6 separate regions of the Homo sapiens genome follow, and all the other regions are linked to region 1. Evidence: promoter capture Hi-C in 16 types of primary human blood cells and fetal thymus (Javierre and others, 2016). All regions are on one chromosome and are shown on one strand. The core of a region is centred on a gene start or on the middle of the fragment in contact, and the rest is flanking DNA. Distances in the headings are between cores, read along the strand shown. Region 1 holds the start of SIRPA (signal regulatory protein alpha). Region 2 overlaps SIRPD (signal regulatory protein delta). Region 3 overlaps SIRPB2 (signal regulatory protein beta 2). Region 4 holds the start of LOC105372499 (a long non-coding RNA gene). Region 5 holds the start of SIRPB1 (signal regulatory protein beta 1). Region 6 overlaps NSFL1C (NSFL1 cofactor).

Region 1 (4,448 bases), core at 1,071-3,570:
ATGTGAAGACACAGGAATCATGTGACACCTCCCAGGCTGACAGTTCTGCCTGAGACACTAGTAGTCATTCAATCCAAAGCCGCCTTCCTAAACCTGACATTTTAGTTTCTCACTCGAACAAATCCATTTTCTTAGAAAATTGGACAACTGCCTCCTTGTACCTTCCTACCCTCATATCCTGTCTCTCTACTTCTTTGTTGTAAATTCCATGTCTGGAGCAATAGGGGGAGGGGCCTGAGGCCCCATCCTTCAGCCAAACCAGGTGACTTCCCTGCCCAGGCCCATGGTGTGACCAGGACCCCGAAGAACAGATACTGAAGGATAATGGGAGACTTGAGCTATGATGGTCGCACCTCATCCCTTCCCCACCACCCTCGACCAAGAAATTCATTCTTACCTCCTAAGATTTATTTATTTCAAAGCTAATCTTGGCCCCTCTGCTGCTCCCACTTTTTCAGGCTATTGATGCTGAATGGATTGGAACGGAAGTTTTATGGCCCAATCTTTACCATCTTATAGACTGTTTTTATAGGCAAAAGGGGGAGATGTGCTCACAAGAAAGGTGTTGGTGTTCCCAGCCGGTGCCCCAGGAAAGGCAGGCTGCCCATCGGAGCACTTGCTAATCAGCGTCACTGCTCGTTTGCCAGGGACTGAACCACAGCCTCCTGGTCGGAGAAGGGTCTGGAATAGACATTTAGAAATTAACTCGGGCCCAATTCCCTGCTTCAGGAAAATTAAGCACTTGTGAGTGACACTTGTGCATTTCCAGGCCAGGAAGGATGGCAGGGCAGGAACTCGGACTTTTGCAGGGTACAAATGGCCAGCTCAGGCAGGAAGGAGCAGATAGGAGATGCCACTCACTGGAGAGACGTGAACTGTATCAGTGCTCCCTTCAGCCCAGCAAGGACGCAACTATAACTGAAAAGAACTGGGGGTGGAGGGTGGGGTGGGGTGGGGGGATGCCTATGTGAATTCCTGGGTTTCAGGGGAAACTGCAGGGCAGAGAGAAGCAGCTGTCTACCCCCCATACTTCTCCTTCCACCCACTCTTTGCTAGTTCTCCCTTTCTCCCTGCTATCAGATGGTTACCATCTCTAGTCAAACGCAAAAGGGGGTGTTGGACACTGAGCTCATCTTTACCTCCCTCCTCAAGGGTGGGAGGTACAGAGAGACCCCACTGCCTACAACACAGTTTCAAGACGACAAAAAACAAGATCCCCATTTTTCTCTCCCTCCCAACTCCCTTAATGCCATTTCTCTGCTCCCCCCGCCCCCCACCCGGTGCCCTCCCAGGAGACCCATGGTTTTGCAAAACCCATTTAAGAAGCAAGACTCCTGAATGGTGACCTCACCCTTTGGTGAACATGCACAGTAGCCTTCAGAGCCCGCCTGCCGGCGACAGCCAGGTGTTTGATGTAGGCCAACAGAAAGACATGGTCAGAGCCACAGGTAACATCCCCGCGGAGCACCTGAACTGCAGGGAGCTGCCTGGAAGCTCGGGGAAGGCAGGAGGAAGGGGGAGCTGGGAGCGCCTCAAGGAGCAAGACCACCAGGGAGAGGCTTTGGCAACCACAGGGACAATCCACCGTGTTTTTACATAAGGATCTGTTGCTCGCAGCAGCTCGCTCTGGGGTTACCGCGGCCTCCCGGCTCCCTCTCTCCCAGGCACACACTAACACCGGTTTACTCTGCGCACCAGAGGGAGGGCTCACTCTTCCCTAATTGCAACAGCTTGTCTCTGTTCCATTCCAGGCAGCATCGGGAGGACCTCTGCCCTCACCTCCTCCCCTCACACCCTGAAGTCAAACATGTGGAAAGTCGTATGTCCATGGGGACAGATTCTGGGGAAGCCGGACGGCCCTGCTCTGAAAGCCACTGTCAGTCAGCCTTCCCCATTGGACCGGGCAGGGGCTGAGTGAAGCAACTCGGCTCTTTTGTCTCAGTGCCCAGCACAGTGCACAGAGTCAGAGTCCACAGAGACAAACTCTCATAGAAGAGACTTGGGTTCTACCCTTGGCTGTGTGACCTTGGGCATGTCGCTGGCCCTCTCTGGGCCTCAGTTTCTGCATCTATAACCCTGGTTACAGGCGTCTCTCCCCCTATTACTGCTCGGCATTAGCCGAAGGGGTCCCAGTGCCAGTCTGAGAGGCCTGAGCCCGCAGTTTGGGGAGTGCAGCGGTGGGGAGCGGGGGGGTGCTTACCTGACCAGGCGCAGGACGCGGCGAGCAGCAGGCAGAGCAGCGGCCCGAGGCGGCCGGGGGCCGGGCCGGCGGGCTCCATGGGCCGCGGCTGCGGAGCGAGGAGGGAGAGCGGCCGTGAGTGCGCGCTCGGGCGGGAGCAGGCTGGAGCGGGGAAATGACTAAGGCTCCCCCCCTTCCCCCCTCCCGGCTGGGCCTCCCCCCGACTCCGGAACGGGCGCCTGGAGCGGCCGCCGCCGCCGCCGCGGTTTTTGGAGACCCCCCCTCCCCGCCCCCCAGGAGAAATGGAGAGACGGAGACTGGGAGAGACCCCAAGCGCGCGAGAAATAAAGCCAGGGGCGGCCAGAGAGAGGCGGCAGGAGAGAGAAACAGACCCAAGGGAGCCAGGCAGAGAGCCAGAGACACGGAGAGGCGAGAGGGGGAGAAAGAGGGGGAGAGCGAGGAGCGAGGAGCGAGGCGGCGCGCAGACCGACAGACCGCGCGGGAGAGAGGACCGCGCGAGCAGGGGCGAGGGGCAGCACGGCCGAGCCCGGCCGCGCGGAGCCGCCCCCGCCGCTGCCCACCTGCCCCGCCCGGGCTCCACACGGCGCGGGCGGCTGGGCTCGCTCCCGGCCCGCAGTCCCGGCCGCTGCCCCCGCCCTCCCGGCAGCCCGACCCCCTCCCTCCTTCCCTTTCCCCTCCTCCCGTCTTCCCGCCGCCCGGGGAGGCTTCGGGGCTCCGGCCCCGCCGGCACCTTCTCTGCGAGCGAGCGCCCGCCTGCGCGCCCCGGGGGAGGGAGCGAGGGCTGCGAGCTGCGCGCCCGGCCGGGGAGGGCAGCGTCCTCCCCCGCGCCGGCGCCCGGGCCCCGGCTGCTGTCCCGGGAAGGCGGCCCCGCGAGCCGCCGCGGCCCGCTGGGGCTCGGGACTAGACGAGCCTCCGGCTCCGACAGCGTGCCCGTTCAGAAGCCCGCGCGGCTGGTCCCCAGCCCCGACCGGTCCCGCTCTGCCCCTCCCCGTCCCTGCCGGGCCCGGACCTGCGCCGCCCGCGAGGGCTGGAAGGCACTGGAAGCGCCGCCGGGGCTGCCCAGAGGCCGGGTCCCCGCTCCACTTTGCGCAAACTTGTTTTTCTAAGGTCAGCGCTGCGAGCTGGCTACATCGTCCTCTTAAGGTGGACCGGGGAAGTTGCGGCCGACCTCCCCTCGCCTCCGGACTCCGGCCGCGCGGCTGCTCCCCGCTTCCCACTGGCGAGAGGCTGGAGGCGGCGAAGGAGTCGGGGCGCGGGGGCGCGGGGGGCGGGGGGGCGTCTGCCTTTTAACCCTCCCCAGGAGGTCGTGCCTCTGAGCCCCAAAGCTGAAGGCCCCTCTTGGGGGTGGGTGCGGGCCGGAGGGGCCCGATCCTTTCAGAGCCGGGCCGAGGTGAAGGAAAAGAAGGAAGTAAGTGAACGCAGGGGGAAGGGGAGAGGAAGAAGAGATGATGGTACAAAAATAGCGTGTGTGTAGGAAGGACTTCGGTGCCGCCTGGAAAAGAGGCGCGGGGAGGAGAGGGAGCGAGAAGGGGGCTGTGGCGCGCAACCAGAGGGGAAGGGTCGGGGCCTTCCCAGGGAGGTGGAGGCCCCCTGGCCAGGTGTCTCGGTGGTGGAGGGCGGACTGGGCGGGTGGGAGGCCCAGGCCGGGGCGTGTGTGGGAGAGCGGGGCCCTGAAGGCCTGGGTTCCGGGAGAAGGACAAGCCCTGAGGAAGATGAGGGGAAGGGGAGCCGGGGCCAGAGGCCTGGAGTTGGAGAGGACAGAACCCCGGTTTTCCCGGAGGGAACGCCGTTCCTGTAGTAGCCAGGTCAGTGATGGGGAGTGCCAGTGTCGTGGTCACCTGGCAGAAGGCTCCGCACTGTGGGAGGAACACAAGTTCAAGACCCCGCTGCTAATGGGAGAGAATTTTGGTTCACACAGTGGCGGTTAAGAGGACAGGAATGACACAAGGTGAGAGAAGGCCCAACCCTGTAAATGGACAGAAAGTTGAGGCCCGGAGAGGGAATAGGTTTGCTTAAGGCCACACAGCAAAGCTTGGGGTAGAAACAAGATTTGAATTCCTGATTCCCAGGTTAAAGACCTGTGCAAAGTAACACCACTGCCTCCCCTCCTGCCCCGAGCCTCCTGGTGAAGGCATGGCCCTGCTGTTGTGCAGGGGGGCAGGGAAGGTGCCACACTTGAGAACATGGGCTGAACTCCGTGGGTTCAAATCCCCCGGCTACTGTTATGAGCTGGGTGGACTGGAAAGTG
Region 2 (4,835 bases), core at 2,009-4,508, 360 kb after region 1:
AGATGTATTCTTGGTGTGAGTGTTTCTACATCTCCTCCACTCCCTTCTCCCAAGAGGTGGCCCCAGACTAGGGACAGAAAAAAGAGATACCCCTCCTCCTCCCAGCTGCGTTTCTGCATGTCACTGTTCCTGCAGTATGAGCACACTAAGGCCCTGCACCCCCCGCTTGACACACACAGGCTTCTTCCCCTTTTCTCTAAAACAGAAACTATCCTCCTCCTCCCAAGATCGAACTCCTTGCTCACTCAAAGTCACTTCCCCTGTAAGCGTACTTTGAAGAGCCAAAGCCTCCCATCAGATATGGCTTCAGGATCATTTTTACAACTGACACCTCTGGAGTGGGGAAAAACAGGGATCCACACCTGTGAAGCCCCATTCCCGGGAGCCCTCCTCCTGACTAGCTGCACAGCTCATCTGAGCCCAGGTCTTGGACTATCACAGGAGGCTGGACACACCGTTCTCTATGGCAGACCCTGTTCCTGGGCTCCTGGATGAGGAAGGGTCACCAGCACACCTGACACAAAGTGAGGGGCCCAAAGGACACAGCCTAGGCACTAAGGGTGTCTGCCAGGGCCCCTCCAAGCACCTTGGGACCCTTATATCAGTAACTTATTAGCTTGTGTCTGATTCCTATTTCACAATCTAGAAACTGGAACGGTCATAATCCTACAGCCCTTTCCTCCCATCATAGTAACTTCCTCTTATATCATGGAACACATAGTTTTGCCTCTCTCAGCAGAGCAGAATCCAAGACCTCCCAAGAACAGACCTGCAGGCAGAGCAGGCTCCAGGGCCCACCATGATGCCCATACCTGCCTCTCGGCCCTGCCTGAGAGAAACAGCACAAACTATTTCGTCCAACCCTGCTGCTGCCTCCGGCTGCTGGGACTCACAGGTGAGTGCCCCCACCCTCAGGTACCATGATGCAGGGATGCTCTCCTGAGTTTGGCGGCGGTACCATTTCGCCACCTGCAGTGGGGCGGATGAATCTCTGTTGTCCTAGGGCCTCTTTCTTTGCCACCCCTTCCTCTTTAAGACACTTCCCTAAATAGTTTGTTTTATAACTAGTGTCTCCAAAACAAATCCTTCCAGAATTCTTCTTGCTTGGAGGGGTTGCTTTCTCTCCCATCCAGGCGTTTCCCCATGACAGGGGTGCCCAGTCCCTCTCACTTCCCACACCCCTGATGTCCTGTGAAGGTTCCACGACCCCCTAGGCCTGACCTGCAGGACCTGATGCCATCCTGAGAGAAGAAGTAGAGGAGCAGCATTTGACCCCTTGGTCCCCAGGAGGGAGACAGGGATGCTGTCATTAAGATGAGTACACATGGATGCATAGGTGATTAATAGATAGATTAGATAGATAGATAGGTAGATAGATAACAACAAGTACTACACATGCAATGTAGAACTATTAGAAAAAATTGCTAAATGGTCCTTTTTAGACTAGTAAGTCTCCCAGAATCTCAGAAACCTAGGATTACGTTCTTGATGCGGGTGTTTCTCCTGCCTGTCTACTCTCTTCTCTCCAAAGATGATCTGCACAGTCAGGAGAGGCAACCATTCTTCTCCCAGTGGTGTTAACATCTCAATTTAGAGTCCAACTAATAAAGTGGTTAAAAGCACAGGCATTAAAAAAAAAAAAAAAAACGACAGGCCGGGGTTCAAATGCAAGTTTCATCATTTGTAGGCTGTTTGACTATGGATAAGTTACTCAACTTCTCTGTGCCTCTGTTTTCTTGTCTGTGAAATCGGGATAAATAATAATGCCTTTCCAATACAGTTGTGGTGAGAATCAAACTAGTTAATTAATATAGTTAAGTTTTTGGAGTAATGTGTAGCACACAGAACCACCTATGTGAGCTCTGGTTGTTACAGCCTTTTAGGGCTTAATAAGTGCAAATATGAGCCCACGAAAATAGTCCTGCTGCATCCGGCCATTGCAACTCTCACTCTGTGTCTTTGGCAAGTCTATGTCTTCACTTAGAACTCACAGAAGTCATGGGAACTGAGAAAGGTCCATCAGGCTTGGTAGAAGAAGGAACTGAAAGCCAAGCAATGGTGTGCGCTTCCTAGAATCACCAGGTTGTCAGGGCTGGAGCCTGGCCTACTGGACTTGCAGTTAAGAATGGAAAGCCCATTTCACAGAAGTCCTTCTATGAGCACAGTCCTGAGTGTTTCTCAAAGATTTTCAGGTTTCAGTATCACAACAAAATTGCAAGAGGAAGTTTTACTTTCCACATTGTATACATTACATAGATAAGAAAACAGAGCCTCAGGGAGGTTATTTTCGCAAAGTAAAACACCAATGTCAGTCCTTTTTCTGTTGCTTAGAATAGAATACATGAAACTGGATTATTTATAAAGAAAAAGAACCTATTTCTTATAGTTGTAAAGGCTGAGATGTTCAAGGTCAAGGGGCCATATTTGGTGAGAGCTTTCTTGCTGGTGGGGACTCTCTAAAGAGTCCTGAGGCAGCACAGGGTATCACATGGTGAGGGGACTGAGCATGCTAGCATACTATACTTGGGTCTCTCTCTCTCTTCTTATAAAACCAACAGTTCCCCTCCCATGATAACCCATTAATCCACTAATTTGTGAAATAACGCAGAGTCCTTATGACCCAATCACCTCTTAAAGACCCTACCTCTCAATACTGCACATTGAGGATTGAATTTCAACATGAATTTTGGAGGGGACAAATATTTAAACTATAGCAATCAAGCAATAGAGGAGGCATTGAAACCTGGGTCAATGGGACTCCACTAGCTCTTACTTTGACCTCTTCACTGTGCTGCTTCTAGATACATCGAACTTTTAACAAAAATAAGATTACACAAAATATGGTGGTTTATTTGTTCTTTTACTCAATGATAAATTGGGGACCCTTTTCTATGTAAATATATATGTGTCTGCAACATCATCAATACATCCCCAATATATACATCAACACTATCATTTCAATCTCTACATAGTTTTCCATTTTGTGGTTGTACCATCATTTATCTAACTCACTCCTATTCTTGGACATGGGCCATGCATCAAACTTTTCTATATTGTAAATACTATGATTACCATTCCTTTACAAATCATATTCACCCTTGTCTGATTGTTTCTTTTGAATAAGGCCGTCAAAGAGGAATTACTAAATCAAAGGGTATGAGTTTTATTGGGAAATTGCATTTCAAAAGTGTTTTTTGGTTTCAAAAGCCATTTCCCAATGAAACGTGAGTGTCTCAATATCAGTAATATATTATCTCACCACACCCAGCACAGAAGCAGCAGCAATGGACAGGGGGTATTTTGAACATTTGGGACCAAAACAGATTTGGTTAAAGTATCTCCACTTTACTTGTTTAAATATGGGTTTGTCACGTGGACATAGATCATAAGATCATGACTGTGATGCTGTATTGCCATCTAGAGAGATCGTGTCCATTGTTATTCCCACCAGCAGTATGTGGGAGCGCCTGCCTCACCACAACCTTAGCAACACAGAAAATTGGCAATCTTTTTCATGTTTGCTAAGCTAATATTCTAAAAATTGTGTCTGCTCTTAGCTTGCAGGAGGGAGAAATGTTTTATTTTATTTTATTTTTATTGTATTTCAGGCTTGCTGTCAAAATAATCCAAACAGGGAAGGAACGTACAAGTAAATAACAAAAGCCCCCATACTCTTCTGACTCCCTGGAGACAGCTACTTTTTAGGAGTTTCATTTGCCTTCTTCAAGAGAGCTTTCTTCCACTGACATAAAATGCCAGCTTGATCGTACAATAAATCTGTCTATTTACCTGGGTCCAATTCCAGGTTCTCTCTTCTGTTTCATCGACCTCTCTGCTTGCCTTGGTACCAACCTGCCTCTACTATTTATTGCAGCCTGAAAATGTGCTCTAACTTTCATATGCTGAAACCTGCGTACATTTTTTTTAAAAACTTTTCCAGCTAGTCTGTCATGGACGTTAGCAATTTGTGTGTGGTTTAACTATGCACTTCACTGGATTACTGGTGTTGTTGAACATCTTTTCTAGAAGTATTTCTTCTCTTTTGACTTCCTGACTGTGTCCTTAGCAAGGGCTGTCTGTCTATCTTGTCTCTATGTCTCTCTTGATACCCAGTTAAGGAATGTGCCCATCCTAAAAGCTAATACATGATATGGAAAGAAAGAATGAATGGGGCTTCAAATGCAATCTGAACCCAGGCACCTGGACCGCAGCCTCATCCCCAGCTGGAGCTTGGAGCTGACGTGTGTTCTTCCAGGAGTGGCGGGTGAGGAGGAGCTGCGGGTAATTCAGCCTGAGAAGTCCGTGTCAGTCGCAGCTGGAGAAGCGGCCACTCTACACTGCACTGTGACCTCCCTGATCCCCGTAGGGCCCATCCAGTGGTTCAGAGGAGCTGGACCAGGCCGGGAATTAATCTACAGTCAAAAAGAAGGCAACTTCCCCTGGATAAGAACTGTTTCAGACATCACAAATAGAAAGAGCACAAACTATTCCATCTGTATCAGAAGCATCACACCAGCAGAGCCGGCACCTACTACTGTGTGAAATTCCAGAAAGGAAGCCTACATGAAGATTAAGTCTGGACAAGGCACCCAGATGTTTGTGCATGGTGGAGTACAGATCCCTAGAAATCCAGCGCATTGTTCTAAAACAAATTACAATCCCTGGGAGCCTAGCCTAAGGCTCCCCCTTTGTTAGCCCTTGTGCCAAGATTATGAATAGAAGATGGGGATAGTGAGAGGTCACAGTGAAGGAACAGGGTGAAATGTAACCCCAGCGCCATCTATCAGTAGACTCCTAACTCTTTAGAATCTTACAGCTTCCAAAGGCCCACAAAG
Region 3 (4,233 bases), core at 587-3,086, 410 kb after region 1:
ACAGTTAGTACCTATCCTACAAAATTGAATAGAAATAGTAAAAACAGGCATCTTTGTCTAGTTCCTGATCTGCAGGGAAAACATTGATTTTTGCACCACTAAGCTTGATAGAGTTGTTGTAGGGTTTTCACAGGTGCCCCTTATCAACTTGAAAAACCTTCCTTGTCTTCCCAGTTTGCTGAGAGTTATTATTAGGAATGCATGTTCAAGTTTGAAAACTGCTTTTTCTGCATTCTGTTGAGATGATTATATGAGTGCATGTATATGCGTGTGTGTGTGTGTTAGTTTAGTAATATGGTAAATTACATTGATTGATTTTTGAATGTTAAACCAACTTTATATTCCAGGGATAAGCTCAATTTGATTATAATGTATTATACTTTCTAAATATTGCTGATTGCTGAATTCGGTTTACTAAAATTTTGTGTAAAATTTTTTATCTATGTTCATGAGAGATATTGATTTTCCTTTCTCGAAAGGAAAAGGCTTCGGTTTCAAGATAACACTGGGACTCATAGAATAATTAGAAAAGTATGCTCCTTTTTTCAATTTTCTAAAAGTATTTGTATAAAATTGGTATTATCTCTTTCTTAAAGATATGGAAAATTTGGCTGGGCATGGTGACTCATGCCTGCAATCCCAGCAGTTTTGGAGGCTGAGGCAGGCGAATCACTTGAGGCCAGGAGTTCAAGACCAGCCTGGCTAACATGGCGAAACCCTGCCTCTACCAAAAATATAAAAATTAGCCGGGCATGGTGGTGCATGCCTGTAATCTCAGCTACTCAGGAGGCTGAGGCAGGAGAATCGCTTGAACCTGGGAGGCAGAGGTTGGAGTGAGCTGAGATCACGCCACCATATTCCAGCCTGGGTGACAGAGTGAGGCCCTGTCTCAAAAAAAAAAAAAAGAAAAGAAAAGAAAAGAAAAAGATATGGAAAATTCACAAATGAAACTTTCTTGGATTGGACCTTTATTTCTGGGAAGATTTTTAATAACAGATTGAACTTTTTAATAGATAATAGGGCTAACCAGGTTGTCTTTTTCTTCTTGAGAAAGCTTTGGCAGTGTATCTTTTTCAAGGAATTTGTTCATGTTACCTAATTTGTCAAATATGTATGACTTGAAGTTTTCCATAATATTCTTTTATTATTCTATTAATAAGAGTAAAATCTGTAGTAGTATCACCAATCTTATTCCTTATTTTAATAATTTAGGTTCTTTCTGTGTGTGTCCCCTCTGTTCAATCTGACTAGAGATTTATCAGTTTTAGTGATCTTCTCAAAGATTTTCTTCTTCTCATTGATTTTTTCTGTGTGTGTGTGTGTGTGTGGTGTGTGTGTGTGTGTGTGTGTTCTACTGTATTAAGTTTCATTTCCAGCTTGATGATTTCCTTTCTTTCACTACTTTGAGTTTAGTTTATTGGCCTTTTTTTCTAGTTTCTTAAGGTGGAAAGTGGGTAATTTATTTGAGTCCTTTCTTCTTTCCAAATATAGGCATTTAATACTACAAACTTCCCCTTGCTTTAACAGAATCCCGCAAATTTTTATATTATGTTTTCATTTTCCTTCAGTTCAAAATATTTTCCAATTTTTCTTTTTTAATCGATACATAACATTTGTACATATTTATGGGGTTCATGTAATACTTTGTTCCATGCATAGGATGTGTAATAAATGAGTCAAAGTATTTAGGATATCCATCACCTCATGTATTTTTCATTTATCTGTGTTAGGAACATTTTAAGTCCTCTCTTCAAGCTATTTTGAAATCTACAATACATTGTTGTTAACTACAGTTACCATACTCTGATATCAAATGGCAGGATCTTATTCCTTCTATCTAACTGTATGTTTGTACCCATTAACAAATCTCTCTCATGCCCCTCTCCCTACACTCACTTTTCCCCACGTCTGGTATCATTCTACCCTCTGCTTTCATGAGATCAATTTTTTTAGCTTCCACGTATGAGTGAAAACATGTGATGTTTGTCTTTCTGTGCCTGGCTTATTTCACTTAACATAATGAACTCCATCTTCATTCATGTTGCTACGAATGACAGAATTTCATTTGTTTTTATAGCCAAATAGTATTCCATACTGGCCATCCAGTAGTGGTATTGCTGGGTGATATGGCATTTCTATTTTTAGTTTGTTGAGAAGTCTCCATACTGTTTTTCATAGTGGCTGTACTAATTTACATTCCCACCAACCATGTATAAAGTTTCCTTTTCTTTGCAACCTTACCAGCATATATTTGTGGTGGTTTGTTTATTTATTTTGTTTTTTTTTTTTATTGTTGCCTTTTTAACAGTCGTTCCAACTGGGGTAAGATGATATCTCATTGTGGTTTTGATTTGCATTTCCCCGATGATTAGTAATGTTGAGCATTTTTTCATGTGCCTGTTGGCCATTTGTATGTCTTCTTTTGAGAGATGTTGATTCATGTCCTTTGCCCACTTTTTAATGAGATTTTTTTTAACTGTTGAGTTGTTTGAGTTTCCTGTATATTTTGGATATTAGATTAGTCCCCTGTCAGGTGAGTACTTTGCAAATATTTTCTCTCATTCAAGAGTTTGTCTCTTCACTGTGTTGATAGTTGCTTTTGTTATGAAGAAGCTTTTTAGTTTAATATAGTCCCATTTGTCTATTTTTGTCTTAGTTGCCTGACCCTTTTGAGGTCTTAGTCATAAAATCTTTACCTATACCAGTGTCCTGGAGTCCCTTCCCTGTTTTCTCCTAGTAGTTTTTATAGTTTTAGGTCCTACAGTTAGATCTTTAATTCATCTTTAGTTGATTTTGGTATATGGTGAGAAATAGCAGTCTACCTTTATTCTTCTGCATATGGATATCCAGTTTTTCCAGCACCATTTATTGAATGTGTATTCTTGATACCTTTGCCAAAAATCAATTGGCTGTAAATACATGGATTTATTTCTGTGTTTTCTATTCTGTGCCATTGGTCTATTATACCATTGGTCTATGTATTCTATGCCCTTGGTCTATTATACCAATACACATCCCAATCAAGAAGAAATTTACAAAATCCCAGAAAAAGAACACAAAATATCGATACTAAGGAAGATCAGTAAGATACAAGATAATTCTGAAAAACAATACAAAGAAATCAGAAAACACTCCAAGACATTGCTCTAGGCAAAGGTTTTGTGGCTAAGACTTCGAAAGACAGGCAACAAAGGCAAAAAAAAGACAAATGGGACTATATTAAACTAAAAAGCTTCTGCACTGCAGAAAAATAATCAAAAGAGTGAAGAGACAACCTCCTGAATGAGAGATAATATTCACAAAGTACCCATTTGACAAGGGACTAATATCTGGAATATACAAGGAACTCAAACAATTCAACAGTTAAAAAAGCAAACAAACAAATAAATAATCTAATTAAAAATGAGCAAAGGAAAGGAATGAATAAACATTTCCCAAAGAAGACATACAAATGGCCTAGAGGTATATGAAAAAATATGCTCAACATCACTCATCAGGGAAATGCAAATCAAAACCATAATGAGATATCGTCTTATCCCAGTTAGAATGGCTATTGTTAAAAAGACCCAAAAAAAGGCCAGGTGCTGTGGCTCGTGCCTGTAATCCCAGCACTATGGGAGGCTGAGGTGGGCAGATCACCTGAGGTCAGGGGTTCGAGACCAGCCTGACCAACATGGTGAAATTCTGTCCCTACTAAAAATACAAACATTAGCCAAGTGTAGTGTCATGTGCCTGTAATCCCAGCTACTCAGGAGCCTGAGGCAGGAGAATCACTTGACCCCAGGAGGCGGAGGTTGCAGTGAGCTGAGATGGTGCCACTGCACTCGAGCCTGGGTGACAGAGCAAGACTCCCTCTCAAAAAAAAAAAAAAAATGATGAGGATGAGGAGAAAAGGGAACTCTTATACACTATTGGTGGGAATGTAAATTAGTACAGCCACTATGGAAAACAGTATGGAGATTTCTCAAAAATCTAAAAATAGAACTGCCATATGATCCAGCAATCCTAGAACAGGTATTTATCTACAGGAAAAGAAATCAATATATCAAAGGAGTGCATGCATTTCTACGTTTATTGCAGCAATATTCACAATTGCAAATGTATGGAATCAATCTAAGCGTCAATCAATGGATGAATTGATAAAAAAAATACATATATATAGTGTCCCCAAGCACACCCACAATGGAATACTATTCAACCGTGAAAAAAAAATAATGAAATCATGTAGTCATT
Region 4 (4,274 bases), core at 185-2,684, 380 kb after region 1:
CCCACCCATCCTCCAAAAGCCATTCAGATTTAACAATTACTGAGCACCTATTAGGTACTTTGGGTGCTCCCATTTGATACAAAAACATTCTGAAATGCGTGTTATAATCCCCACTTTACAGATGAAGGAAACTGAGGCTTATATAGGTGAGGTGACTCTCCCCAAGACCAGGGTATAGTCTTGGGACCTGAGTCAGGGGTGGGGCTGAGCCTGCTTGGGGGTCTAGTGGAAACAGGATCTAGCCTCATCCTGACATTGTTCTGTCACCAGGTACCCCTGTGTGCAACTCCTTCCTGCTCCTTTGCTGGAACTTTCTGCCATCTGTGTCCTTAGGAGGAGCCTTTCTTCCAGGTAAGGGGGGACCCTAGATGGGATTAGGCTCCCAAGGGTGGGACTCCAGCTGACAGGGGCACTGTGAGAAGAAGGCTGTGGAGCCCTCCCATTTCTCCTGTACCTTGAATGGGTGTTGATCCATAGGGTCCCCGAGAGTTGCACCGCTATCCCCTTGACCTTCCTCTGTCTCTCATTCAGCCTGAGGATGTACAAAGAGGCAGGTTCCCTGGTCAGGGCAGGAGAGGGGGCACTTAAGGAGGAAGAAACAGAGAGAGCTGGTATGAAGACAGCACCCTTGAGGTAGACTCTAAGGAGAGGTGTGAGAAAATCATGGGCTGTGCCTCAGCCCCTGCTTCCTCTACAGGTCATAGACCCCGCAAAGGCAGTCCTCCACAGTGACATAGGACCCTCAGTCCCTCCTGTCTTATTTAGGAGGACTGGACTTAGAGGAGGACCTGCCATGATGTCTGTAGCTGCTCCCTCAGCTTCTCTTGCCTCATCAGCCTTCTGAGACCTGAACAGCACTGGCCATCCCTCCCTGTCTCCTGCAGCCACCAGAGGAAGGGAGCACCTAGACTGGAAAGGTCAACAGTGAGAGGGAGATTCTCATGCCTTACCCAGGAATGAATTTTCTGTGGCAAGTCTGACCTCAGAGTCCATGATACTGACCAGGAAACCCAGCAGAGGCAGGATAGGCTCCAACCCTGAGGAAAATAGATGCCTGCATTTCTGATGGCTCCTTCCTGGCTCATCAAGGAAAGCCCATTGCTCTGCCATGAAACCCAAGCTCTGCCATGAAACCTCTACAGCCCCATCATTAAAACTGAGTTAAATGAAACACTTATGGCCAATAAACATATGAAGAAATGGCCAACCTCATTAGTAATCAGGAAAAGCCACGGCAAAACCACACTGAGATGTCATTTTGTCCCTGTTCAAATAGCAAAAGTAAAGAAGCCACTGGATCTTTTTTGCATTGCTAGTGGGCACATAAATGGACACAGCTGTTTTGGGAAACAGATTGGAAAATTTTGTTGTGTTAAACACTCACATACCCTATAACCTGGCACTTCCACTCTCAGGTTACACTCAAAAGAAACTTGCACATGTGCACCAGGAGATATGTACAAATATGTACATGGAGACATTGTTTAAAATTAGCAAAACCTGAGAACAATCCAAATGCCCATCTGCAGTACAATGTGTGATAAACTTAGTACACTCACAGAATGGGATATTCTATAGAAAGCAAAATTAATTAACTACAGCCGCACACAGTAACATGGATAAATTTTAGTAATACAATATTGATGGGGGTAAGTAAGTCCCAGAGATTTCATGAAAAATGATGGTCTTTTAATAAAGCTGAAAACAGCTAACATTAGTTTTTAGGAATACATAGAAATACAATGAAACCCATTTTTTAAAAGGAACAATGAACACAAGATTAAAAATAGCAGTGACCTTGGATGTAGGAGGGCAGAAGGATGAGAATTTGGGGTACATAAAGATAGGTGGAAATTATCGTGAAGGTTCTAGCTTTCATGATGGATGGTGGCTTCACAAATGTTTATATTAAGATTTTTTTTAAATGGACAGATTAACAATATAAAATTGATATAGGTATGCAGGTAAATAGATAGATGCATGGTTGATTGGAAGGGAGAGAGGGAGTGAGGGAAGATAGATGGATGGATGGATGAATGGATGGACAGATGGACGGATGGATGGATGGGTAGACAGATGGGTGAACAAATGACCAAAGGGCAGCTATATAGATGAAGGGGTAGGTAAACAAATTAATAAAAAGGGTCATGCATTGTCAATAATTATAGTATCATGCAACATGAATTATGATAGGTACAATTCTGTGTACTTAAGATTCAAAGGAAAAAAATAAATGGAGGGACATTATCTAGAGAACCCCAAGTTCCCTTCCTATTGTGACATTCTACAGTTCCATATAAGGAAGAAAAACAGTTACTGGGTGCCACCATGGGCCTGGGACTTCATGTGTGGTTTTATCTCATTTCATCCTCATACCAGTCTTACAAGGTGGGCACCATGCTCCATTTTGCAGATGAGGGGACCTGCCCAATGTCACTTAGATAACAAGTGGTAGAACCAAGAAATCCAGATTCAAACCCAACTCTTGTCACTGCTTTCCAAGGAGCCACATTGCCCAGCATTCTAGACACAGATGGGTGATCTTCACCCATCCTCAATCTATTGCTTCCTGGCCTGTCAGGCCAACGGTTCTACAGTAAAGCCAACCTGATGCCTATGGGTGGTGAGGGAAAGGGAAGAACACATGTGTGCCCTTTCCCAGGTTTGAAATGTGTCCCTGGAGTAGATCGAGGGTTCATTATAAGCACCAAAATGGCCCTGTGAAGACTTTGGAAGATGACGTAGTCCAGAAAAGCCTTTTACAGAAAAGGCTTTTTGTAAAAGGGTAAGTATGCCCAGAGGAGATAAACATCCTGCTCTATTTTTATTATGTAGTTTTACTGTGACTTTGAACCTTTATAGTCACAGAAACAGAGATATTCTCCCTCAGATATGCATCTCCTTTTCAAAATTTTCTACTCACAATAGAGGTGCTTCAGCTTCAATATTCCCATTCCTGGGCTCCAATGTTGAGGACCTTGAGGATGTCTTGGCCTTCTTCAATGATGAGGGTATCATGAAACAAGAATTATAATTTACCTCCCCCTTGAAGCAGAGCCAGGACTAGGATGAGGCAAAGTTCCTAGGAAACAAAAAGTAAGACACTCATTCTGAGGCCTGAGCAAGCGCAGTGTCAGCATGTATAACACCTTGTGATATGGTTTGGCTGTATCCCCACCCAAATCTCATCTTGAATTGTAGTTGCCATAATCCCCATGTATCATGGGAGGGACCTGGTGGGAAGTGATTGAATTGAATCATGGTGGTAGTTACCTTCATGCTATTTTCATGATAGTGAGTGAGTTCTCACGAGACCTGATGATTTTATAAGGGGTTTCCCCCACCTTCACTCTGCACTTCTCCTTGCTGCTGTCATGTGAAGAAGGACATGTTTGCTTTCTCTTCTGCCTTGACTGTAAGTTTCCTGAGGCCTTCCCAGCCATGCTGAACTGTAAGTCAATTAAACCTCTTTCCTTATAAATTACAGTCTCGGGTTGTCTTTATTAGCAGCATAAGAATGGACTAATACATCTTGTCTCTACATTTTGTGCCCTAGGTGCCCTAAGTTTCCAAGTCTCATTAATCCTGTCCTCTCCTGTTCATCTGCATGGTCACCCAGACCCTTGTCAATACTTACCTAGGTCACTCCAACAGCCTCCTTCCAGGTCTTGCTCTGGAGCCTCGCATCCATCCTTTACATCAAAATGGCCTCTTAAAACATTTTCTTGGGGTTCCAGTGACTCACACATGTTACCCTAATACTTTGGGGGTGCAAGGCAGGAAGACCACTTGAGAACAAGAATTCAAGACCTGGGTATATATTGCCTTGGCAACGTAATGAGACTTGGTCTCTACAAAAAAAAATTTTTTTTAATTAGCTGGGTGTGATAACACATACCTGTTAAGTACTCAGGAGGCTGAAATGTGAGAATCACTTGAGCCCAAGAGGAAGAGTCTACAGTGAGCTGTGATGGCGCCATTGCACTCCAGCCTGAGGGACAGAGCAAGACCCTGTCTCAAAAACGTGTGTGTGTGTGTGATATATACATGTAACATTTTCTCAAAAACTTTAGCTAGTTCCTCATTCCCCCAATCATACTTCAAAAAGGACATAGAGGATGTCCCCAAATCATACATCAAGAAGGACATAGAGGATATCCCAGGTGTTGCATACCTTGAAGCCAGAGGAAAAATGAAGCTGCCAGAAAAGTCACAACTTGAACATAAAGATTGCCTATCCTTTTAAGGAAACCACCCATATCCTAAGGAAGCCC
Region 5 (4,871 bases), core at 631-3,130, 280 kb after region 1:
TTGAACAAATGTATTATTGCCTGCGTGCCTCAAGTTTCCTCACCTATAAAAAAAGGTTAATGGTAGTGCTAATTTCATGGGACCAGAGTGATGAATTAATGAGGTAACTGACAAAATGCTTGGCACAGTACCTGGAGCACAGGACATCTGCAGTAAACACAGCAGCTACTACCCTTCATGTCATATAGAGACTAGTTTCTTGTTTTAAAGTGTAATTTGGCATCGATTAACATGATTTTATCATTTTTATATTCATTTCTGTGAGTGTGGAGCAGGAGGTGATGATTTCACCCTCTGTGCATCTGCCACATTGAAAAAGAAATTTGCATGGAAATGTGATGACTTTTACAATTTCATTTGACAATTACTCATGATAGGTGAAGGATTGCAAGCCCAGCATGGGAAAGAGAGGTTTCCAGACAGGTCTTTCTTAGTCACAGATGATGGAGGAGAAACCATTTCTCCTACCAAGGAAATTTTTCTAAAGCACAAGTATGTCAGGGAAGCAGTGAACTCACCCTGTACACAAATGTAATTATAGCCACAATTTTTTGGTTATAATTAAATATGAATCAAACCTTCTGTATGGCTTATATTACTCTTACCATATCACTACAAGGTGCATGTTATAACTTCCATTTACATGTAATTAAGTTAAGGCTTAGAGAAGTCAAGTGTCTTGTTGAAAGTCACACAGCTGGAGATTGTAAGAAAAGGAATTCATCTACAGATTGACAAAAAGCAGGGTGAAGAGGATCCAGAGGGAGAAATTGATCTCAGAGTGTCAGAGGTAGACCAAGTACACCATAAAAGCTGGGTTCCAGAAGTCCGGGGAACATGGGAGAAGGCCACTGGTGGGAAACTCAGCATGCAGTAGAAATCCATTTAAAAGCAATATTTGAGTTCCCTCTCTTCACCTGGCACCATGAGTATCAATAATAACCTACTGAATCTCAGGGATGTATAGTCATTATCTCTTTTGATGTTCACTAAAACATGGCAGTGAGACTTATTATCCCAAGGTTAGAAGGCAAAACTGAACCTAGGCAGGCCCAGTAACTTCCCCAACTCCTTAGCACATCTTCTTAGGGTATTTATTCTCCCTCCCTCCTCAGTTCCCATCTGAAGACAGTGATGAATGGAATAGGTGTTCTATGTGCAGAGCAAAGAGTATTGAAATCGATGTGACTGCTCCAGGAATCTGCCCTCCATATTCTCCCCCATAATAAACATATCCCCTTTCCATAACCCATAATCCCCACCTCACCTCACAAAGCAGATCCTTATTACCCTAAGCCCACTTCCTCTCCTGGAAGAAGTCAGGAAATAATTCCTTCTGCTGGGTGCAGGCATATGAAAGTGCTAACGGCCACATGAGACTGAATTTGGGCTAAGTTTTGCCATTTATATTTATAAAAGTTCGGAATAGGGAACCATTTCAAGAGCAGACCTGTTCCTCTCCAACACTGAGCAGGTCCAGTGATCCCTCATCCTGCCCCAACTGAGTAGCACTTGGTTGAGGCTGTTGTAGAATGAGACCACAAGCCAACCACATCCTGAGGTCTTGAGATGGAAAGTTTAGGAAACATTTCATAACCACAGGTCCTTCCTGGCTTAAGAGCACCAAATGGCAAATCACCAAGAAGACATAAAGATGGGGTTAGGAGTCATGGAAGGAGTTAAGACCTCAGGTGGGAAGGAAGCATTATTTCTGCTAAGCCTGTCTGATTCTCCTGAAATGGGGCATGCATAACTGCTTGCATTGTAGCTGCTTGCTGTTCCTGATTTCTGTTTCACAATCCAGAAGCAGGTTACTGCTTCACTCCATCGCAGCCACTTCCTCTTGAACTAAGGGAGGCAGGGCTTGTCTTCTCTCCTCAGAGCAGAGTCTGCGATCTTCCCAGCACAGACGTTTGGACAGAGCAGGCTCCTAAGGTCTCCAGAATGCCCGTGCCAGCCTCCTGGCCCCACCTTCCTAGTCCTTTCCTGCTGATGACGCTACTGCTGGGGAGACTCACAGGTGAGCACTGCCTTCGGTTAAAATCTTTTTTCCTGCCCACTGAGCCATGGCCTGTCCCTGGACTTTCAGGGATTCCGGACAATGACAAGTGCTGCCAAGAAAGGCCAAGGATTAGGCTTTGACTGAGAGCAGAAAATCAGGGAGCTGAGCACTTTCTCTGTGGATCTGCAGCTGGCTACCAGAGGCATTGAACCACAGGACGATTCAACCACCACAACAACAATTACTTACATTTTGATAATATTTCAATTGAAAAAGCAGAGAAGAATCATTATCTAAATCCTCACCAGTCCTGAGGCCCTAGGGCCAAGTGACATGCCCAAGTCCACAGAGTAAGCTCAGAGACACCCTAACAGGGTTATGTGGCTCTAGGCCCAGCCCTCTCTCTTCACCAAACTGAGGATGTGAAGTCTGTAATAGTGCTCACTTGAGTAGGGCAGTGGTGTGGTGTATCCTGGGAGTGTTCAGCCACCATCCTCCCTAAGGGTGCTCCTCACTTTGTCCTCTGTTCCCCCATGCTCCTCCCTCCCCTGTGACCTGATTCTTACCACCCATTTCTCTGTGGCCTCTTCCTCTTTAAGAAGTTCCACATTTGCTGCTTACTGGGTCCTATATTCCTTTCCTAGGGCTTCCATAACAAAGAACTGCAGGCTGGGTGGCTGAAACTACAGATATTTACTTCCTTGCAGTTAAGGAGGCTGAAGTCCAAGATCAAGGTGTCAGCAGGGTTAGTTTCTACTGAAGTCTCTCTCCTTGGCTTATACAGGGCCATTTTCTCTCTGTGTCTTAAACACATGATCTTCCTCTGTGTGTGTCTGTGTCCTCATCTCCTCTTCTTATGAGAATATCAGTCTTGTTGTATTAAGGCCCACCCCAATGACCTCATTTAACTAAATTACTTCTTAAAGACCCTGTCTCCCAAACTGTAACGTTCAGAGGTGCTGGGGATTAGAGCTTCAACACATGCATTTTGTGGGACACATTCAGCCCATAACAGGTACTACAACCTCCTTTGGTTCTCTTAAATTTCCCATGGATAATTTCTTTCCCCTTCCCAAGACAGGCAGGATTGGAGGGCCTTTCCTGGTGCAGCCTGGGAGAACCCTGCTCACAGCTCCCAGACAAGTTACCTGTCCTGATCCCTTCTCAGGCCATGGAGCTGACCCCAGAACCACAGGGCTGGGCACAGCAGCCTCTCAATTCCCCACTGGGCCCTGCTGTGATGTCACCTCACAGGCCCTAGAGGGCAGGGGTCTCACTTTTCAAATTATTTTTCTCACACATACACTGTACCCAAATGACAGCAGTAAGAGTTTAACAATTGAGCTCTTCCTACCATGTAGACACAGTTATTAGCATTTTGCCTGTTTTAGCTCCACTAATCCTCACAACATCCCTGTGTGAAAGCTGCAACTATTATCCCCTATTTCCAAACAAAGACTCAGGCAGAGGGAGGAACTTGTCCATTCATTGTCCCCTACCTCAGTCAGTGGAGCAGCTGAGATTCAAGTCCAGGTCGACCGGCTCCAAAGTTCATTCTTTTAGTCGTGTTATGCTACTAGCAGAAATATTAGAAAATGCAGGGAAGTAAACATAGAATTAATTATTGCCTACCACACTTGTTAGCAACAACCAGAGTTACAACTGTGATGTATGTACTTCTAAATTTGTTATTAATGTGTTGGATGCTTTCTATGGGCCACATATTTTACTTTCTATGGGCCAGATATTTTAATGAGATTTTAACGTGTGTTGTAATTTTATTTAATACACAAAACAAACTTATATACTATCACAATAGGTCACACTTTGATATATATTTGTGAATGTATATGTGTGTGTCTATATATACATATATATGTGTGTGTGTGTATATATACATATATGTGTGTGTATATATATTTGCAAATGTGTGTATACATATGTGTGTATACATATGTATATGCATGTATGCATATAAGTAAGTGTACATGCACACACAGGAGATTTCATTTTTTATCATTGTTTCTCCAAGTTTCTAATTTCAATGAAACTTTTAACAAAATATTTTATTTTTATTTGACAGAACTGTATATACTTATCATGTATACCATATTAATGAAATATGTGTACATTGCAGAATGCCTAATTTGAGCTAATTAACATATGACCTACCTTGTATATGTATCATTTCTGTGGTGAGATCTCTCAAAATCTGCTTTCAACAATTTTTGAGGTTACGAATTGTGTTATGAACTCTAGACCCCATATTGTACAATAGATTTGTGGAACTAATTTCTCCTAACTAAACTGAAATTTTGTATCCTTTGACCAATATCTCTCCAAATGCACCCCCTGCCTAGTGCCTGGTAACCAATATTCTACTATCTACTTCTATGAGTTCAACTTTTTAAAATTCCACATATGAGAGACATTATGCAGTATTGTCTTTCTGTGCCTGGCTTATTTTACTTAGCATAATATCTTCCAGGATCATTTATATTGTTGGAAATGATAGGATTTCCTTCTTTGGTCAGGCTGATTAGAATTCCATTGTGTATACCAATTTCCTTTCTCCATTTATCTGCTGATGGACATCTAGGTTAATTTAATATCCTGGCTATTGTAAATAATGCTGCAATGGACATGGGAGCACAGATATCTCTGTGACATGCTTATGTCATTTCCTTTGGATGTATGCCCAATAGTGAGATTGCCAGATCATATGATAGTTCTATTTTTAATTTTTTGAGGAGCCTCCATACTGTTTTTGCTAATGGCTCTACTAATTTACATTCCCACTAACTATGTGCAAGAATTCCCTTTTCTCCACATCCTCTCCAAAACTAGTTATCATCTTTTTTATAGTAGC
Region 6 (4,827 bases), core at 140-2,639, 430 kb after region 1:
TTTGCAATCCCATTTGCATCCCCTGTCGCTGCCTCCCACAGCACCCACAGCAGATTACTCCTGTGCTCTGCAGAGTGAGACAATGCTGGTCTTCCAGGAGACAGGCAGGGGTGCTTCCTGTAAAGGTGTCTGAACCTTTACAGAGAGTGTGTAAGCAGAGGTGTCTCCCCTCTCTGCTTTCGCCTTATTGCTTCTACTCTCTAGTGTATGTTTTAGCCAGGAAATTTTATTTGGGTTTGAATTCAACCCCAGAATATAACCAACAGTGTTTCTTTGCCATGAAGTGGTAAATTATGTTTCTCTCTAAAGGCAACTGAGGTTTAAAATATATTTCCTCCCTTCGAAGAAGGAGCACTAACCCCAGATCTCATTGCTTTCTTCTTTCCCTAACTCCCATCCAGAGAAAAGAGGTAGGAGGAAAGTGATCTTGTAACTGTTTGCACGTGCTAACCTATGAGATGTTGGTGATGGCACATCTGGGTATTACTGCTTGGGACATGTTGTTAGGGTAAGTGCTGTTCTTGCAGCTGCTAGTAGAGATGGCTGATTTTCTGGGGTATGAGTCTTTGACAGCCACCTTAGGGTGTTGTTGGGATGTTGGCATGTCAGAATTATAGAGGGGGAGAGATTTAAACTTAGTCTCTAATGCCAGTTACATGTTTACTCCTTTCTTTTCTCCAGTAATCCCAAAGTTCTATTAAGGCAGTGGTTTATTAGCATGGGCCCAGGAGCCTGACTGCGTTGGTTCAAATCCCAGCTCTGCCACTTAAGTAAAAGCTTTGTGACCTTGGGCAGGTTACTTAACGTTTCAGTTCCTCATTTTCCTCGCCTGTCAAATGGTAATGATAGTGCCTACCACATGGGAGACTGAATGAGTTAATACTTACAAAGCAAATAGAACACAGCATGTGTTGTTATTATAATTTTAGTATTATCATTTTTAGCATTCATTCTCAATTGACCTGTTTTGTTTACTCTATTCCCCAACAAGTATGTACATTTAAGAATAGGCATAAAAGTGGCCAGGCGCGGTGGCTCACACCTGTAATCCCAGCACTTTGGGAGGCCGAGACTGGTGGATCACGAGGTCAGGAGATTGAGACCATCCTGGCTAACATGGTGAAACCCCGTCTCTACTAAAAATACAAAAAAAATTAGCCAGGTGTGGTGGCAGGAGCCTGTCATCCCAGCTACCCGGGAGGCTGAGGCAGGAGAATGGCGTGAACCCGGGGGGCGGAGCTTGCAGTGAGTCGAGATTGCGCCACTGCACTCCAGCCTGGGCGACAGAGCAAGACTCTGTCTCAAAAAAAAAAAAGGCATAAAAGTAAAAGAATCAAGGACATAGAGTTTAACATTAGAACTGAAGTGAGTAAAAAGACTGGACGCACATTTGGTCCAAGAGGCATTGCTTTATTGCTCTGGTTAAGGCTCAGACTTGGTAGTAGGCTTAGAAAAGAACTGAAGACAAGAAAAAGGGAGGGAGGAGGGCGCAGTGTGTTGCATGGTTTGTCCTTGTTGAGGAGGAAAGCAAATGCTAGGACTACATTCTCAGGAAAAACCAAACTTGTGCTAGCACCTCAGAGGAATTCTGTGTGGGGCCTGCCTCTGCTTTGACCTGGCAGTTGCAGGACACTTAGCCAGCTGCTGCCCTCTCCCATCCCCCACTTTTGACTTCTCACATACCCTTTTATGTTGTCACTGCTGCCTCAGAGCAACACCCAACTCTAGAATAAGGATTCTTAATATGGAGCCCGAGAACCCTAGGAGGAATCTATGAAATGAGCGTGAGAAGGTCTCTATTAATACCTGAAATTACAGGCAAAAGTTTGTGTACATGTTAGCAGGTATCTTTTGTGGCAAGAGAGTCCATGGCTTTTATGAGATTCTCAAAGGGCTGACAGACATAAAAATGTTAACCATTGCTATAGGAGACAGTTTAAACTCAGTAATAACAGCTGCCATTTATTGAGTATTTACGAGTGAGGCACTGAGTTAAGCTTTTACATGAACATCTTTTTAGTCCTCACAGCAACCCTGTGAGGTTAGTACTGTTGTTAGTACTGTTAGCACTGAGGTTAGTACTATTCCTATTTTACAGATGAGGACACTGAAGTTGGGTATCTTTCCAAGATCACAGAGCTAGTAAAACAAGGATTTAAGTGTAGGGCTGTTTTCTACATTCAGCATTTCAGCTCTCAGCCCCAACAATGTTCTGCCTCTTCTTGTGGACATTCAAAGTCCTCCAGAGTTTACCCTTGGACCCACCTTCCTAATCTGATTCCCTTTTCCTCATTTCTTAAATCCTTTGTTCCAACCAAACTGATTTCTTTGGTGCTCTAATTCTTCCTTATTTTTGGTTCTCCTGCTTTTGTTTGAGCCTCTCACCTGATCAGGTGTGCCCGCTCTCTTGCTTTCTGCCTATACAAATCCCATGCATCCTTCCATGTTTACCTCCATCCCCACTCTGCTGAGCGTGTTATTGCTAACCCTGTGACCAGGCTGCACGCCATAATTCTGTTCCACAGAACTCCAGTCACAACTATCACTCCTTCAGTTCTTTGACTATATCCATGTACTACTGGGTGGCATCTCTCCCACATTGCCCTGAACTCTTTTCCTGATATTTAACTTAATTTTTCTCCCCAAGTAAATTGTAAATTCCTGGAAGTGGGACGGCTAGTATTTCAGGAGCAGTCACCAAAGCTCTGCCATGTTTCTCACCTGTGTTCTCTTCTGATACTGTTCAACAGCTTTGAAATAGGTAAGGTGCTTACCATTTCGCTGGTCAGGATGCTAATTCTTAGAAAGGTCAAGTAACTTACAGCTGCTGTTACCACAGATTCAAGGCGAAGTCTGCCTAAGTCCAAAGCTGCTTCTGCTGCCACATGCTACCTCCCTGCCAGCACCTCCCACCCCTGTATGCAGGGTCAAGCAAGAGGTAACAGTTTCTTCCTTTTTTCCCCTCTTTCATCCAGCAAAAGTTGTACTTTAAACTTCCGGGAACTACGATTGTCTGATTCTCTAAAATTACACGATCCAACAAGGTAGCTACTAGCTATTTAAATTAATTGAAATTAAACAAACATTGTTACTCGTTTTCTCTAACCACATTTCAGATGCTTAATAGCCAAATGTGGCTAGTGGCTTCTCTGTTGGACAGTGCAGATAGAGCATTTCCATCATCACAGAGAGGCAGAGCTAGGGTAACCGGATTAAAAGCAGAAAATGTCATCTGATGAAGGAGTTTTGTGCCACTTCAGTATGCCAGAGTAGCCTGGGAGATAGTTCTAATATTGAAAAATTGAACTTTCTGAGATATTTAGCCAATTTGTAGAGACCATAGGACAAAAGTATTGTGCAATTGCTAATATCCCTAGGACATCCATGCCATAAGGTAACTGAAAGCATTACTCCAGACAGTGGTTCTGAACTTGAATATATGTCGGAATTACCTCAGGGGCTCCTTAAGGCTAGATTGCTGGATACCCCTTCCAGAGGCTCTGATTCAGGAGAATTAAGAGGGGGCCTGGGGATTTGCATTTCTGACAGGTTCACTGTAATGCTGATGCTCCTGGTCCATGACCACACTTTGAGAACTGCTACTCAAGAGTAGTACTTAAATGTGCCACACCATGCAAAAGACTTTCCGTGCATCAGTACCCCACCTGCACACAGAAAGCCCATAGGTTGGTGCTGTGATTGTCTTATTTACATGTGAGAAAATGAAGGCTTTGAGAATTTAAATAGCATGTCCAAGATCCCAAGGGTAGGAGGCAGAATTGGGATTGGAATCTGGTACATGGATACCAGAATCAATGTCGGATACCATCAGAGTCTGGGTGTATGAGTTTTGGGGGAAAGAAACAAAGCCATAGCAGAGCAAGTGATTTGCCCAAGCAAGTGTACACACATATATTTGAAAGTTTAACAACAGGGAGATAGAAAATATTTTTTTCATAGATGCTCATCCTAGCCTAGTCATTGGAAGAAACTTTAGGCTGAGCATGTATGGAAAATTCCCTTTGGGAAGATGAATGAGTGGAACTAGTACTCTCAGGGTACTAGTACAGATCTCATCACTTGGATCCTTTTGAACCATGTCATATCAAGCATCAAGGAATGCCCGGCAGACTGTTCTCAGGAGCCAACTCATGCAGGGAGCTTGTTTGCTACATTGATTGGTTTTTGTCTTCTCACTTCTAGTTGATGGATCCTCAAAACTCTTCTGTCCCCTGATTGTCTCCTTGAAATAAATCTTCAAGACTGAACTGGAGCTTTCTTCCTAGTAAACAGCTCATTAAAGCCTCACTAAACCTGTATTACTCTCTGTTAGTCTTTTCTCACACTGCTATAAAAAACTACCTGAGACTAGGTAATTTATGAAGAAAAGAGATTTAATTGACTCACATTTCCACAGCTGTACAGGAAGCATAGCTGGAAGGCCTTAGGAAACTTACAATCATGGTAGAAGGCGAAGGGGAAGCAAGCACATCTTCACATGGTGGCAGGAGAAAGCATGTGTGAAGGGGGAAGTGCCAGACATTTTAAAACGATCATATCTTGTGAGAGCTCACTCACTATCATGAGAACAGCATGAGGGAAATCCACCTGCATGATCCAGGTCCCTCCTCCAACACTGGGAATTACAATTCAACATGAGATTTGGGTGGGGACACAGAGCCAAACCATGTCACCCTCTTTGTCCCATATTATATGGAAGCTGCTTTTTTCCCCTAAGAAATACAGAATTTTTTTAAATCTTGATAAAACTTGTCTTATGATCCTTGAAAAACTTAAGCTTGTTCCTTGAGGACAGATCTAAACTAG

The links. Contacts are between HindIII fragments. The CHiCAGO score rates a contact against its expected background, and 5 or more counts as called.
Region 2: a fragment that was not itself captured here is called in contact with the fragment with the promoter of SIRPA in region 1 in 2 of 17 cell types (monocytes and neutrophils); the score reaches 6.8 in monocytes.
Region 3: a contact is called between a fragment that was not itself captured here and the fragment with the promoter of SIRPA in region 1, in 1 of 17 cell types (monocytes). The highest score is 7.3, in monocytes.
Region 4: a contact is called between a fragment that was not itself captured here and the fragment with the promoter of SIRPA in region 1, in 1 of 17 cell types (monocytes). The highest score is 5.2, in monocytes.
Region 5: a contact is called between the fragment with the promoter of SIRPB1 here and the fragment with the promoter of SIRPA in region 1, in 5 of 17 cell types (neutrophils, monocytes, M0 macrophages and 2 more). The highest score is 17.1, in neutrophils.
Region 6: a contact is called between a fragment that was not itself captured here and the fragment with the promoter of SIRPA in region 1, in 1 of 17 cell types (neutrophils). The highest score is 5.2, in neutrophils.

The regions. Positions count from the first base shown.
Region 1 is chr20:1,893,279-1,897,726 of GRCh38, reverse strand. SIRPA (signal regulatory protein alpha) reads right to left here and starts at 2,320. Exons shown (of 8, transcript NM_001040023.2): 1 at 2,201-2,320. The coding sequence starts at 2,279. LOC102724545 (a long non-coding RNA gene) reads left to right here and starts at 3,477. Exons shown (of 4, transcript NR_186374.1): 1 at 3,477-3,608. RefSeq lists an enhancer at 1,160-1,675 and silencers at 2,967-3,086, 3,097-3,356. The HindIII fragment of the contact is 10,599 bases long and covers 1-4,233 here.
Region 2 is chr20:1,533,215-1,538,049 of GRCh38, reverse strand. It overlaps SIRPD (signal regulatory protein delta), which reads left to right. Exons shown (of 4, transcript NM_178460.3): 3 at 740-895; 4 at 3,609-3,799. The coding sequence ends at 3,625. The region is part of intron 2 of LOC105372499 (a long non-coding RNA gene); the gene reads right to left. Among named protein-coding and RNA genes, the nearest start is that of SIRPD, 22 kb to the left of the region's middle. The HindIII fragment of the contact is 7,989 bases long and covers 1-4,835 here.
Region 3 is chr20:1,482,749-1,486,981 of GRCh38, reverse strand. The region is part of intron 1 of SIRPB2 (signal regulatory protein beta 2); the gene reads left to right. Among named protein-coding and RNA genes, the nearest start is that of SIRPB2, 6.6 kb to the left of the region's middle. The HindIII fragment of the contact is 1,559 bases long and covers 1,057-2,615 here.
Region 4 is chr20:1,512,159-1,516,432 of GRCh38, reverse strand. It overlaps LOC105372499 (a long non-coding RNA gene), which reads right to left and starts at 3,872. Exons shown (of 4, transcript XR_001754464.2): 1 at 3,638-3,872; 2 at 2,924-3,082. LOC105372498 (a long non-coding RNA gene) reads left to right here. Exons shown (of 3, transcript XR_937198.3): 2 at 271-351; 3 at 766-846. The HindIII fragment of the contact is 9,029 bases long and covers 1-4,274 here.
Region 5 is chr20:1,617,018-1,621,888 of GRCh38, reverse strand. It overlaps SIRPB1 (signal regulatory protein beta 1), which reads left to right and starts at 1,880. Exons shown (of 6, transcript NM_006065.5): 1 at 1,880-2,020. The coding sequence starts at 1,945. The HindIII fragment of the contact is 7,240 bases long and covers 1-4,871 here.
Region 6 is chr20:1,459,016-1,463,842 of GRCh38, reverse strand. The region is part of intron 2 of NSFL1C (NSFL1 cofactor); the gene reads left to right. Among named protein-coding and RNA genes, the nearest start is that of NSFL1C, 5.4 kb to the left of the region's middle. The HindIII fragment of the contact is 1,220 bases long and covers 780-1,999 here.